Regions from separate parts of the Homo sapiens genome. Here all the other regions are linked to region 1. The links are contacts of gene promoters, found by promoter capture Hi-C in blood cells and fetal thymus (Javierre and others, 2016). All regions are on one chromosome and are shown on one strand. The core of a region is centred on a gene start or on the middle of the fragment in contact, and the rest is flanking DNA. Distances in the headings are between cores, read along the strand shown.

Region 1 (2,641 bases), core at 87-2,586:
TGCCAGGCAGCAGGAGGAAAGAACAAGGGTTAAAAGCAAGTGTTCTGGAGACAGACCACAAGCAAGTTTCTTAGCCTTCCTATGCCTCAGTTTCCTCGCGTTGTAAAACAGGGATGATAATAATGCCTACTCCACAGGGTTACTGTGTAGCTTCAATGACAGTTATAGGCAAGGACACTTCATTTTCATTTAAGACAAAAAGGAAAATCTGAAATGCTTGGCACAGCTCCTGGCATACAGATCTTCAATAATGCTGGGTGTTATTTTTATTCCTGTCTCTGTATGGAGCATGACCACTGGGTTCCAAAATGTATTCTACTTGGAAATCAGGCCACAGTCCCGTTAAGGATGGTGCTGAGTTTACTGGTGGCAGCGAGCTCCTTACCCCAGCAGAAAAGGGGCAGAGGCCGGGGGAAGGAGAACTTTTTTTAAAGGACTGATATGAGGTCCTTAGCTAGCAACTTCCCCCAGTGCTCAGGGGTTCTGAAGACACAGCTTGGTGCAAATTCACTTCTGACACAGGAAAAACAATTCAGAGGCCATGGATCTACTTCGGGGCGGTCCTCACGTAACGAAATGAAACGTTCAGAAACTGGTTTATTTATTTTTCTCTTGGGCCCATTTCTTTTTCGACATCCTTAGAGGACAGAAGGCAGCCCTCCCAGTTAGTTTCTCTTTCCCTCTCAACCCTGCAGCTTCCCGGCCGCCTCAAAGTGGCTTTTTGGACTCCTCTCAGCCTCAGCGGTTCCCAAGGTGACACCCTGAACCCCAGGGCGGTCCCTCGCGGCTCAGCCCCAGCCCGCAGTCCCCTCCCACACCGTGCCCAGGCCCTCCCCACCAGCCCGGCCCCCCGAGGCCCACACCTGGAGCATTTCCTGGCAGAAGGCGCGCACCGAGCGCAGCGAGGCGAGGTCCAGCTCCCGGACTATGAGCTCGCCCACCCCGCTGACGCCAGGCTCTGGGCCGCACTCCGCGGCCTGGCGGAGCTCGCGGCGGAGCTGACCCGCCGCCTCCTCGGCGCGCGCGCGGTCCCGGCAGCCCATGATCACCCGCGCTCCCAGGCGCAGTAGCTCGGCGGCCGTGGCGCGGCCCAGGCCGCTGTTCGCCCCGGTGATCAGCACAGTCTTCCCGTGCATGAGGCCGGGGTCCCCGCCTCTGCGCAGCCGCTGGACCCTGGGCCCCACGAACCGGCGGGCCGCCAGCCACAGCGCCCCGCCCAGAGCGGCCAGTACTGCCGCCGCAGTGGCCACTGCCATCGTCAGGCCCGAGGGCCCACCGGCCCCTCCACGGGAGTTCCGCAGCCGCCGCCTTACCGGAACCCAAGAGACCACCTGTACGCGGAGAACGCTGGGGCGCGGCGGGTCGGCCCCTGACGGTGCGCGTGGGGCATGCTGGGACTTGTAGTTTCCCTCTGGGGGGGTCGCCTGATTGGTTGTGAGAGTTCAGCGCCCTGGGTCCTGCGCCCTCCGTGGAAGCTCCTCCCAGCCTAATGATGGAGGCTGGGCAACCAGCACAGTGTTCAGGGTGCTGGGGTTCATACGTATTGAAATCCCAGAGTAGTGGCGGACTTCCCCATGGGAATGTCTGATGAGTACTTTGAATCACAGATCTCTGTACAGGCCCTGTTACAAATGCCACTCCTCAGGGCATTTCGTGTGTTTTCCTTTGAGGGCTCTTGGGACTTGTAAATTCAGTTCAATTCACCTTCTGAGGAATGGGCCCTGACAAGCTGAAGTCTGAGGTAGGACTGTTTTTCATAGATGAGACAAAGAATTAAGCAACATGAATCAGTTGGAAATAGAATGGTCGAGTAGTTCTCAAACTTAAATGCACATCAGAATCACCTGGAGGACTTGGGGTGGGGGTTCGGGGTGGGGGAATGAAACAAAACGAAAACAAAAAACCAGGGCCCCAGTATTAGAGTTTCTAATTCAATAGGTACAGGATGGGGCCTGATAATTTGCACTTTTAACAAGTTTCCAGGTGCTGCTGCTGCTGCAGATCTGGGAACCACACTTTGAGAACCACTGAACAAGACATTATGTCATTGGTCCCTATTAAAAAAAAGAAAGCCATCTTCAAATGATCTTCACACTGGCAGAGGTACAGTGGGAAAAGCTTGGACTTATTGTAAATATAGGCTTCTGAGCAGGCCATTTACAAATGCCTCCCTGCCCTCTCCATAGGACTATTACACACAACGATGGAAGGCAAAGTGCTTGGCTCACTGTAAAATGCCTCATTAATATCAGGGTTAGTGTCACAGGGACCCTTCTTCAAGCTACAAACTTCATAGCTGTAGACCAAGCTACTTTTAAAGACTCATTCGTTCGTCTGCCTCTCCATCCAATATGTGCCTGGCCCTGCCTGTTCCCTGTTAGAGCCACAGAGAAATGGGACACCATTTCTGCTCTCAGGGTGCTTACTTTCTGGAACTGTGATCTCCCACTTCCCACCCTCCACCCATTGCAGGTTCTCCAGACAAGGAAAAAGAACCACAGCTTGTGTCGTTTGAGACAAACTCCCCAATAATTGTGATAATCCATCTTCCACTCCCTTACATTTGGGAAGGATGTAACATGCAACTAATAGTCAGAATACAAAGAAAAAGGGATGGATTCCAGGAGGTTTCTTATGAGTA
Region 2 (2,641 bases), core at 68-2,567, 920 kb after region 1:
CCTAAAAAATCTAAACTCCTATTTTTAGTCCCCCACCTTCAATAGAAACATGACTTGGTAACTCCAAGTGAACAAATCATTAATCATTGCATTAAATCCACATCCATTATCCCACATGTAAATGTCATGAAGGTGAATGTACACAGCTCTATGTAACTACATAGCTTAGAAACTAAGACAAACATATTCTTTTTATTAAGTTAGTAATCTGGATTTCAGGGGAAATTATTTTTTATGCAGACTTGTCAAGATTATACAAATAATCAATTTTCCAGGTAATTTACAATCTTCAGAGTGTGTGGGCCTTTGAAAATAAAAATTCATGTGTAATTCTCCCTGTGGCCTGAATTTTGAGTGCACCAAATCCATATTATCTAAAGACAATGCTCATTACATTACACACCCTTATATCACCAATATTTGACCACCACTCCACCCAGAACTTTCCATGGCCCTTTACTCCCAATTCCATTGAAACTAAATTTCTCAGTTTAGTTGTCATAGTTTTTCACAGTACTTCTCCAGTTGGATTCACCAATTCTCCAAAATATACCTGTTGTTTAAGTCAAGCAAATTTCCTCTATGTCTACAAATAAATCATGCTTACTCTAGAGTCTTTTCCTTGTATTTCTTCCTTTCATTTGAAAGATTTCTTCTAAACTTCAGATCCAGCTTAAGATGTAATTTATTGAAAGTTGCATTTTTCAACCAACACCCTCACATTCATCTTTTCTCCTTTGCCTTCGAACATCACTAATCCTCTGTATCACATGATTTAGTAATGACTTATGTTTCAAAAACTTACTCTTGTTTTGTACATTTGATTAAAGTCTCACAAAAATGAAAGCTTCATTTAAAAAACGTTTGTTCTCTGCTGTAATCTTAGCACCTAGAACAATACCTGGAACATGGGGAGGCTTGATAAATATTTATTGAAATAATAAATAATGATTAAACAAATGTCTTCTCAGTAGGACTTGGAATTTTTCAAGAACAGGGGCCACATTATCATCCTTTGATTTTTACTATCCACAGTCCACTGCTACACTGTCTTAGTCTATTTTCTGTTGCTTATAACTGAATACCTAAGACTGGGTAGAAATGAAAATGGATTTCTTACAATCAGGGAGGCTGAGATGTCCATGACTGAGGGGCTATATCTCGTGAGAGCCTCCTTGCTGGTGGGGACCCTCTTCAGAGTCCCAAGGTGGCATAGGGCATCACATGGCAAGGAGGCTGACTGTGCTAGCTCAGGTCTCTCTTCCTCTTCTTATAAAGCCACCAGTTTCATTCTCATGATTACCCATCAATCCATTCACACATTAATGCATTAGCCCATCAATGGATTAATCCATCCAGGAGGGCAGAGCCTTCATGACTCAATCACTTCATAAAGGCCCCACCTCTGAATACTGCCTCATTGTGGATTAAATTTTAACATGAGTTTTGGAGGGGATAAATTTTCAAACCATAATGCATGTACATCTCATTTACCAAGTACTCGATCTTCTGCAATGCTCAATGACTAATAAGTTACACAAAAGTTCAGCTACAGACTTAAGTTCTAGGTCAGACTTGAAGATAAATGCAATTGTAGTAGTCACTGCCTAAATTATTCCTGGGGGAAAAAAGGAAGAGACAGAAAAAGATCTATTAAGTTTGGAAAGATGCCTATCTTTTAAAATAGAAAGTAAGACCACTTGTCATTTAAGGAACATAGGTCTTTCTTAATTATCATGTTTCATACAATTATTGTTAGGCACAGTTATTTCTTCTCTATAGAGGACAAAGCTTATTAAATATAACATCTACTCAGATTTCCATGTAGATACATATCTCTAAAGTAAACAAGCCAGGCAAATATTATTATATCCACTGCACAGATGAAGAAACTAGTAAGATTGTCTTATCAAATGTTATATGGCTATGAAATGGTAGAGCTGAAACTAACACATTTTTTTTTTTTTTTTAGTTTGCCTCCCATATTTTTATGATGCCTTTTGAAAGCATTCTTAATGGTAAACATAAAGAAAATTTTGATGTCTACTCACTTTCCATTTTTTGGAATTTTCCCCTTTTGGTCTCCTTGCTACCCCTAGTGGACTCTACCTTCCTTCCCCTGATTCTCATGAGAATCTGATCTTCGCTAAAGTGGGCAAGGTAAATTGTGGCAATTCTAGTGTATCGAGGTGGTTTTCTGAAGCAGTAATCAGTGCATTATTACTAATTCTATGCTTCTTCATGGAACCATTACCTAAAAACCTAGATATTTTGGCTGGGAACAGTGGCTCACATCTGTAATCCCGCACTTTGGGAGGCCAAGGTGGGCGGATCACTTGAGGTCAGGAGTTTGAGACCAGCCTGGCCAACACGGTGAAACCCCATCTCTACTAAAAATACAAAAATTAGCCTGGTGTGGTGGTGGGCGCCTGTAATCCTAGCTACTCGGGAGGCTGAGGCACAAGAATCGCTTGAACCAGGGAGGCAGAGGTTGCAGTGAGCTGAGATCACGTCACTGTACACCAGCCTGGGCAATAGAGTGAGACTCAGTTTCAATTAAAAAAAAAAAACAAAAACCCAACAACCACAACAAAAAACTAGGTATTTTTATTGCTTTGGGAAGGAGAAAATGCAGAAAATA
Region 3 (2,641 bases), core at 48-2,547, 820 kb after region 1:
TAAATGTTAATTCCATTCAGATATACCCAGCATAATGTTTGATCAAATATCTGGGCACCCTTTGGCCCAGTCAAGTAGACATATAAAATTAATCATCACAATCCTGTACCCTCTTTGTCTTATCTCCTGGAAAGTGTTAATGATGGAAGAAAATAAGGAAAATCTCAAAACTGGTCTTTGAGGGCTTAGGGAAACAGAGGTTCTCCCACCTCACCTTTTCCAAAGAATACCAAACAGTGTAGGTATATTGGAGATTGGGTGGGAGCAAGCGTTATATCTGGGGACATTTTGTATCCCAAATACAAGTAATTCTTCTAGTTCTTACTGTTTCTTGATTGTTACTTATATTCCCAGTAAGAATTAAAGTTCCCTAAGGACAGGAAAGGAAATCCTTTCTCTCCTCACTCCCCCGACCATACCATTCACCCAAAGCTGAGCTTACTAAATGCTAAATAGTTCACAGACAAAGACCCTAGGTATCAGGCAGCGTTGCTACTTGAAACACTCATTGTGCTCATTAAGGGAGAATCATCTCCTTACTAGAACTCTATCCATAGAAGGTGTGTAAAATGCTTAAAGATTCTAAAACAGCTAATTTCTACTATAAGAAATGAAATTAAACAAATTCATAAGTGCATCACTTAAAGAAATTATTCTTTAAGTTAATGTGGTGTCTTTATCACAGGGATTCATACAGGAAACCATTTCCTACGTCTGAACCTTCACACCAAGAACAGAAATGAAAACAAACTCATGATAAATTCAAGGACATAATTCAATTTACGTGATAGGTAACAACTATTTTAACAAAGAAAAAAGAGTTTAACTGAAATAAATTATAACAATTATATAAGTTTAAACAAAACTTAACTTTAATAACTTTACTCTTTTCCTGCCAAAACAAGACCTTAGCTGTGTAGATGAATAAAATATATGCCATTAAAATATTATGATCATTTGTACATTTAAATTTTTCATCTTATTTTTACTGTAGCTGTATTTTATTTAAAATGCCCATTTATAATAAGAAAATTATTTTATTTCTTCTAGATATATATATAAGTTCAAAAAATATTGAAGACGCTCTACAGGTAACTTTGCTCTATATTTAGCAGAAAAAAGAATTTTGGAAAACGAAGTTGAGGACCACAATATGGAAAAAGTTACCACTTCAAATCCTTATGTTTGTGCTTAAAAAAGAAAATCAAAGACTTTGAATTCTGAGTGAAGCATGAGTCTCAGGGTAGCTAAATGCCTCAAAGATCACATCTGGGCACTTAAATTTTAAGAGCACAAAAGGAAGTTATGTGGAAATTCTTCTGAATGGAATACTAGCTACTTGGTTTCCAAGAGTGATCTTTGTCTAGCGCAGGTGGACACTTACTAAGAACTTGGAACGATGGAGTGTTAACACTGGTGTTTTGACCCCCTTCTGAACGTTAGCTCGTGTGTCTACATTATACCACTGGGGCCAAGGGAATGAGATACATAGGGAAGAATGGGACTTTGGGCCTTGGTGAAAACCTCTGAATTAGGATGTTCTCGAACGGTCAAGGTCAGGAAGTGCCCTTCTCTTCTGACTTGGGCTGTTCCTTGACTGTTCAGCTCTGACTGCTTTCCCACATTCATGGCCTCACTGTCTGGGGGCCGCCCTCTTTTCTCCCAGAGCCTGACCTTCATGAACCCATCCTGACGCTGACCCACATCCACTCATCTTGTGGGTCAGTCTGCTGGTATAGACTTTGATGAACCCAGCACTAGCTCCTTGCTGGAGGGTCCTAGCCCTTTCTGACAGTGCAGTGCCTCCTTGTGGTTGGGAACCCGGAGTGTTATTTTGTCAAGAAAAAGTGGAATCAGAGACTTTCCTTTGTTTCCCTATGTTTCCTACATAATGACATGGATATTACCCCACAGCAGCCTGAGATTGCCCAAGTAGGAGCATTCAGGCACTTCCAGACCACTTCCTGATGTGGCCACATCTGGGGCACAGTAAAACAAACCAAGTAAGGGAAAGAGCCATTCTAAAATTCTCCGTACAGGTGATTCTCTTTCTAACTGCTCATCTGGAGAGCTTGGCTAAATGAAAGATCATGGAACATCAGCTTTGACAGGACCCTTGAGATTTTATTGACCTCCTAATTTTATGGTTTAGAATATTAAGATCAAGAGAGAGAAATTTTCTAAAGCTCGGATGTCAGAGAGTGGTTGAGCTGGAATACTGGTCTGCATGACTTTCTGCCCAGTGCTCTCTCTGCTCTATAGGTGGCATATTGAAAGAGTTGTTGCCTTAAGAACACCATCAAGGCAATTTTGAACACTTGCATTTCTAATGAGCAAGGTACTAACTAAAATGTCACTTTGTCCAAGTACTTGTGTACTATTTTGTTGCCTCTCTCCAGGTAATGTGCTTAGATAGATGTTCTTCTTCCAGCAGATGGTGAGATGGGGGACTGATGTCCAGGCTAGGGATGGTGCACCTGGCTCTGTTGCTTTTGTAAAACCACAGAAGACAGAAACCTCTAGATTACTTTTAACTTCCTCCCCTTTTAAATAACTATATTTGTATTTCTAATACATGAAATAGTTAACTATGTAGAGGGAGAGTTAGAGACAGTACCTAATCCCAGCTTGATGCAATTAC
Region 4 (2,641 bases), core at 39-2,538, 800 kb before region 1:
TCTACCTCCAAAATATACTTTGTGTTCACAAACTTATCTCAGTGTCCAGAGGCACCACCTCAGTCTATGCCAACCTCATCTCTCATCTATACTCCTGAAGTGCCATCTTCACTAGTTTCTTGCTCTTGGCCTCCCCTACCCCAGACTATTTTCCACATAGCAATTAGAATAATCATAAATCTTTCTTGCTTAAAAATATTCAGTGGTTTGGCCGCGTGCAGTGGCTCACGCCTGTAATCCCAGCACTTTGGGAGGCCGAGGCAGGTGGATCACAAAGTCAGGAGTTTGAGACCAGCCTGGCCAAGATGGAGAAACCCCATCTCTACTAAAAATAAAAAAAAATTAGCTGGGTGTGGTGGCAGATGCCTGTAATCCCAGCTACTTGGGATGCTGAGGCAGGAAAATCACTTGAACCTGGGAGGTGGAGGTTGCAGTGAGCCGAGATCACACCACTGCACTCCAGCCTGGGCAACAGAGTGAGACTCCACCTCAAAAAAAAAAAAAAAATCAGTGGTTTTGGCCGGGCACAGTGGCTCACACTTGTATTCCTAGCACTTTGCGAGGCTGAGATGGGCGGATTATTTGAGCTCAGGAGTTCAAGACCAGCCTGGGCAACATGGTGAAACCCCATCTCTACAAAAAATACAGAAAATTAGCCGGGCATGGTGGCACACACCTGTAGTCCCAGCTGCTTGGGGACTGAGGCAGGAAGATCACTTGAGCCAGGAGATTGAGGCTGCACTGAGACAAGATCATGCCACTGCACTCCAGCCTGGGTGACAGAGTGAGACTCTGTCAAAGAAAAAGAAAATTCAGTGGTTTTCCACTCTAATTAAAGCTTAAGTAAAATGTTATTACATTAACGTTTTTGATACTAGTCTAATGTTCTTGCCTTTGTGTTATACTATTTTGACTTTTACTATCAGTGTTTGATGATTAATGTATTACTAATTTATATATTTCAGGAACTTATTTTTTCGTATCTCATATTTAACACAAATGGATGTAAAACTGGTATTTGTTATGGAAGGGGAACCACCAAAGCTGAAAGCTGATGTCATAAGCAAGAGGAATCAGTCTCGGTATGGGTCTTCTGGAAAATCGTGGTCTCAGAAAACAGGGAGATCACATTTTAAATCAGTCTTAAGAGAGGTGAGCATTCAGATTTGATTCAGTAATTCCGATTTGAATTAAAGGGTGCATTTTACTCTTAATAGTTTGTCATCTTTAATACTTATTAATTTTATTGTGACTAGCAGGGATGTGCCTAGAGAAAAGAGTTTATTTTTTAGAGTGAAATTGACCTGAGTTTCATTCTTGGCACTGGTATGTAGAAACTCTGAGACACTGAGCAAAATTTGTAACCTATCTCTACCTTGTATGTTACCTTGTGAAATGACAACAGTAATACTCAGCAGGGATGTGATAAAAATAAGAGAAAGTATATCTAAAGCAACTAGTACATGGTAGGAACTTGATCATATTACCTTTTATAACACCTTCAGGACTTAAAGAAGTCCCAGAATACATGAGATCTCATTAATTCGTACTTCACTCATTCAGAATTCATGATAGTTCATATACAGAATATATATTTGGCTTCCCTTAGGGCTTGTAATTTTAAAAACTGTCGTTACATTATAATATATTATTTATATGTTACTTTAATATTGCTATATTTTATATTTGTATGAAACTTAAGAAAGAAATCATCTATAGTATATAATTAAAACAATAGGAAGCTTTTTTTTTTCTGTTTTCTTTTTTTGGTTGTTTTTTTTTTTTTTTTGAGATGGAGTCTCGCTCTGTCACCCAGGCTGGAGTGCAGTGGCGCAATCTCGGCTCACTGCAAGCTCCGCCTCCTGGGTTCTCACCATTTTCCTGCCTCAGCCTCCCGAGTAGCTGGGACTACAGGCGCCCGCCACCACACCTGGCTAAGTTTTTTTTGTTTTTTTTTTAGTAGAGACAGGGTTTCACTGTGTTAGCCAGAATGGTCTCGATCTCCTGACTTCGTGATCCGCCTGCCTCGGCCTCCTGAAGTGCTGGGATTACAGGTGTGAGCCCCTGTGCCTGGCCTTTTTTGTCTGTTTTCAAATGTGTGTATTTTTAAAGAGTTGTAGTAGTACACATGATTTTTAACCTAGCCTTTTCACTTAATGCTTCATGTTGTCATATTTCCCTTTTGTCACATTCTAATCAAAATCATAACTTGTAGTGGTTGTGCAACATGTATGAAGCTATGAATCATACCCCTGATTGTATATGTTATTTACTTTTTTAGTTTTTCTCTACTATACATGGAAGTGTGATTAACATTTTTTGTGTATATAATGTTTTCTTGTGATTTGAAATTTTAGATAAAATTACCCAATGTTGGATTGATGGGTCAAAGTTTTGGAATGATTTTATTGCTCTTGCTGATTAATTTCTGCTAATGCAGATGTCAGAGAAGCAGTGTCGGTGCACTCACAAGAACATTGGATGTTAGGAGGCTTGTCTTTGTAATATTTAGTGTGCAACAACAAAGATATTTAATATGCATTTGTCTTTTAATAGTAATGTTAAACATTTCATCTATTTTTAGTCTCCCTTTGGGTAATGGCTATCATCATGTCCTTTACCTACTTACCTCTTGAGGTTT
Region 5 (2,641 bases), core at 100-2,599, 770 kb after region 1:
ATATGCTCACACACACACACACACACATACACACACATGCATATGTTGATGTATGCATGGGTGTATCTGTGCACATAAGTTTCCCTGGTACCTAATTATTGACTACCTAAAGGTGTCTAATTCTTCCCTGAATTCCTAAATTCTGGTAAAGTTTCAGGCACATAGAATGAAGCCAAGTATCTGAAAAGTGAATTTAAAGGCAGAGCATGTGCATAGAATTTTTGCCCAAACTGAAACAAGAATAACTCTCCCATGAGCCTTAGCCAGGAAGAGTCTAGCCTGTCTGTGTGCACAGCTCCAGAGTTGGGAGACATCACAGAACCACCAAACCTACCCCCTGCTGCTGCCAATAAGGGAGTTGGCCAGGAAACACTTTTCCATCAAGCACCACAAATAATTCATCCCACAGACTCCCATGATCACACCTTCTATGTGCCAGGCCCTCCAGCTATGAATAAGAAACCAATGTGGTTTAATTTATAACTGCTTTTTTTAAAATTCTGAAGAAAGCTGAATTCATAAAACAGGAGATAACAATGGAAATTATTTTTGCTGAATAACTACTGTGTGCCAGGTTAATTGCACACATTGTCCCATGTAAGCATTGCACCAACTGAGAGAAAGAAATCATTTTCTCCATCTCAGGAAACTCTAGGAAGATGTGACCCTCAGTCTGTGGGCCCCAAGGTGCGTGCTGTGAGATTGGGGATTGATTGCACCAGCATCCCTGTTCCACTCACTATCTGTTTCCATTTCTTCTGCAGTTCATCAGAGACGGTAACCCAATTTGAACACATATTACAATACAGTCTACTAATGTTTCTTCATAATAGAAAAACAGTAAAGATTTCCTGTCATAATACTAAATGCCACTTAAAGGAGTTACAGATGCTGAATCTGAGCAGATTAGCCAAGTTATGGTATAAACTCCAAGTTTCAGAACTGTATCCCTGAGGCAAAGTAAAATGTCCAGTGGTGGTTACCCCATTCCTCCACAAAAATAAAAAAAAACAGTTTTCTAAAATGTGATGCATATAAAATATTAAATTTCTTAAACTATGTTGGCTTTTGGCTGGTTGCATGTTTTCTGTTGGAGTTAATACCACATGTTAAGGTGTGGGAATTTAAGATAGGCATCTAAGACAGTGAGCCATTTAAGAAAACCAAAATTTAAAAACAGCAATGCTCTCCACACACTCCAACTTGTGTTACATTGCCTTTAGTCCTCACCGTTTGTTTTTTGTTTGTTTGTTTTTTGCTATGCAATGTGGAATCCTTGGCCACAGCTCTGGGCAATCAGAGCAGAGAAGCACATGCTGAACAAGTAATTGGTGTTGATGTGTGTCCTCTAGGCTCTGCTTTTTGGGAGGCCTTGCCAATGTCCTCATTGAGATCATTATCTTCCAGCTTTGTGCTTTGATCCCAGATCTGGAAAAAGTGTGCTTCCTAGGCTGCAGGCCTCCCCCATCCTATATCTCCCTCCTTATCTCAGAGCACTGTCACTGAGTCAAGAGTTGGATCGGCTTCTCACTGTTCATGATCTTTACATAATAGCTGACACATTAAATTATGATGTATCTTCACTGGGCTAAGCTCATTACATGAATGATTTTATTTATTCTTCACAATTCAATTATGCATATATTTTAATTACCCCATTTTACAAATAGTGAAACTAGAGCTATCCTAGAAGACAGATTCCACAAGGACTTTGTCTTACGTTGCTGTAATTCCAGGGCCTAGAACACTGCCTGTGTCTAAGTGCTCAAGAAGTAATCATTAAGTCGATGAATGAATGAATGAAGCCAAGGAAAATTAACTTAGTTGTCCAAGCCATACAACTAGTAAGTGTTGAGTCTGGAGAATATTTACGAAAGTGGGATTTCCTGTGTTCTTGTGTGATGCCCATGTTGACATTCCCCAGGCAGGTTCAAGATAGGAGTCAACTTGGCAGCACGGTGCAGGGCACAAGGCACAGGCTGGGAGGGACACAGGCCTGAGACCTGGGCTCAGTTCTGCAGCTTACTAAGTGACATTAGACAAATCACTTAACTTCTCTTAGCTTCAGATTCCTCATCTATAAAATAAGAACAATAATACTCACTTTTTAGTGTGCTTGTGTGGATTATAAGAGCTAAAATATGTGAAGTGCCTAGTGAAGTGTATTTTATATAGTATGTGTTCAACAATTTGTAGCTATTGTATAATGATTCTTAACCTTACCATACCCCAAAAAAGCACAGCATCACTTCTCCAAATCTAATCATGAGGACTTATTACACAGTCCCAAAGGTGGGACATTTTACCATATAATCAGCCTATCATCTTCAAAATTGTTGTGATTATGAAAGTCATGGAAAGACTAAGAAACAAGTTGAGACTGAAGGAGACTAAAGACACATGACAACTGAATGCAATATAAGATCATGACTTGGATCCTTTTTCTATAAAAGCCATTGTTAGGCAAATTGGTGAAACTTGAATGAGATCTGCAGGTTAGATGGCAGTAATATATCAGTGTTAATTTTCTGATTTTGATTTTGATAGTTGAATGGAAGTTTTTTTTGTTTTGTTTTTTGTTTTTTGAGACAGAGTCTCACTCTATCTCCCAGGCTGGAGTACAGTGGAGTGATCTCTCGGC

Evidence for each region. The method cuts DNA at HindIII sites, captures the fragments that hold promoters and counts their contacts. A CHiCAGO score of 5 or more calls a contact.
Region 2: a contact is called between a fragment that was not itself captured here and the fragment with the promoter of RDH14 in region 1, in 1 of 17 cell types (total CD4 T cells). The highest score is 5.5, in total CD4 T cells.
Region 3: a contact is called between a fragment that was not itself captured here and the fragment with the promoter of RDH14 in region 1, in 3 of 17 cell types (total CD4 T cells, naive B cells and naive CD8 T cells). The highest score is 6.3, in total CD4 T cells.
Region 4: a fragment that was not itself captured here is called in contact with the fragment with the promoter of RDH14 in region 1 in 2 of 17 cell types (non-activated CD4 T cells and total CD8 T cells); the score reaches 5.7 in non-activated CD4 T cells.
Region 5: a fragment that was not itself captured here is called in contact with the fragment with the promoter of RDH14 in region 1 in 2 of 17 cell types (total CD4 T cells and total CD8 T cells); the score reaches 7.2 in total CD4 T cells.

Annotation. Positions count from the first base shown.
Region 1 is chr2:18,559,317-18,561,957 of GRCh38, forward strand. RDH14 (retinol dehydrogenase 14) reads right to left here and starts at 1,337. Exons shown (of 2, transcript NM_020905.4): 1 at 864-1,337. The coding sequence starts at 1,256. All of the region lies in intron 10 of NT5C1B-RDH14 (NT5C1B-RDH14 readthrough), which reads right to left. LOC105373456 (a long non-coding RNA gene) reads left to right here and starts at 860. Exons shown (of 6, transcript XR_007086234.1): 1 at 860-1,375. RefSeq lists enhancers at 497-546, 1,357-1,406, 1,467-1,516, 1,527-1,746 and a silencer at 757-1,266. The HindIII fragment of the contact is 4,929 bases long and covers 1-2,116 here.
Region 2 is chr2:19,477,125-19,479,765 of GRCh38, forward strand. LINC01808 (long intergenic non-protein coding RNA 1808) reads left to right here. Exons shown (of 6, transcript NR_183418.1): 3 at 2,100-2,160. Among named protein-coding and RNA genes, the nearest start is that of LINC01808, 9.5 kb to the left of the region's middle. The HindIII fragment of the contact is 944 bases long and covers 846-1,789 here.
Region 3 is chr2:19,376,120-19,378,760 of GRCh38, forward strand. No RefSeq gene overlaps it. Among named protein-coding and RNA genes, the nearest start is that of OSR1, 19 kb to the left of the region's middle. The HindIII fragment of the contact is 5,929 bases long and covers 1-2,641 here.
Region 4 is chr2:17,760,431-17,763,071 of GRCh38, forward strand. It overlaps GEN1 (GEN1 Holliday junction 5' flap endonuclease), which reads left to right. Exons shown (of 14, transcript NM_001130009.3): 3 at 966-1,152. Among named protein-coding and RNA genes, the nearest start is that of GEN1, 7.6 kb to the left of the region's middle. The HindIII fragment of the contact is 904 bases long and covers 837-1,740 here.
Region 5 is chr2:19,331,318-19,333,958 of GRCh38, forward strand. No RefSeq gene overlaps it. Among named protein-coding and RNA genes, the nearest start is that of MIR4757, 16 kb to the right of the region's middle. The HindIII fragment of the contact is 9,961 bases long and covers 1-2,641 here.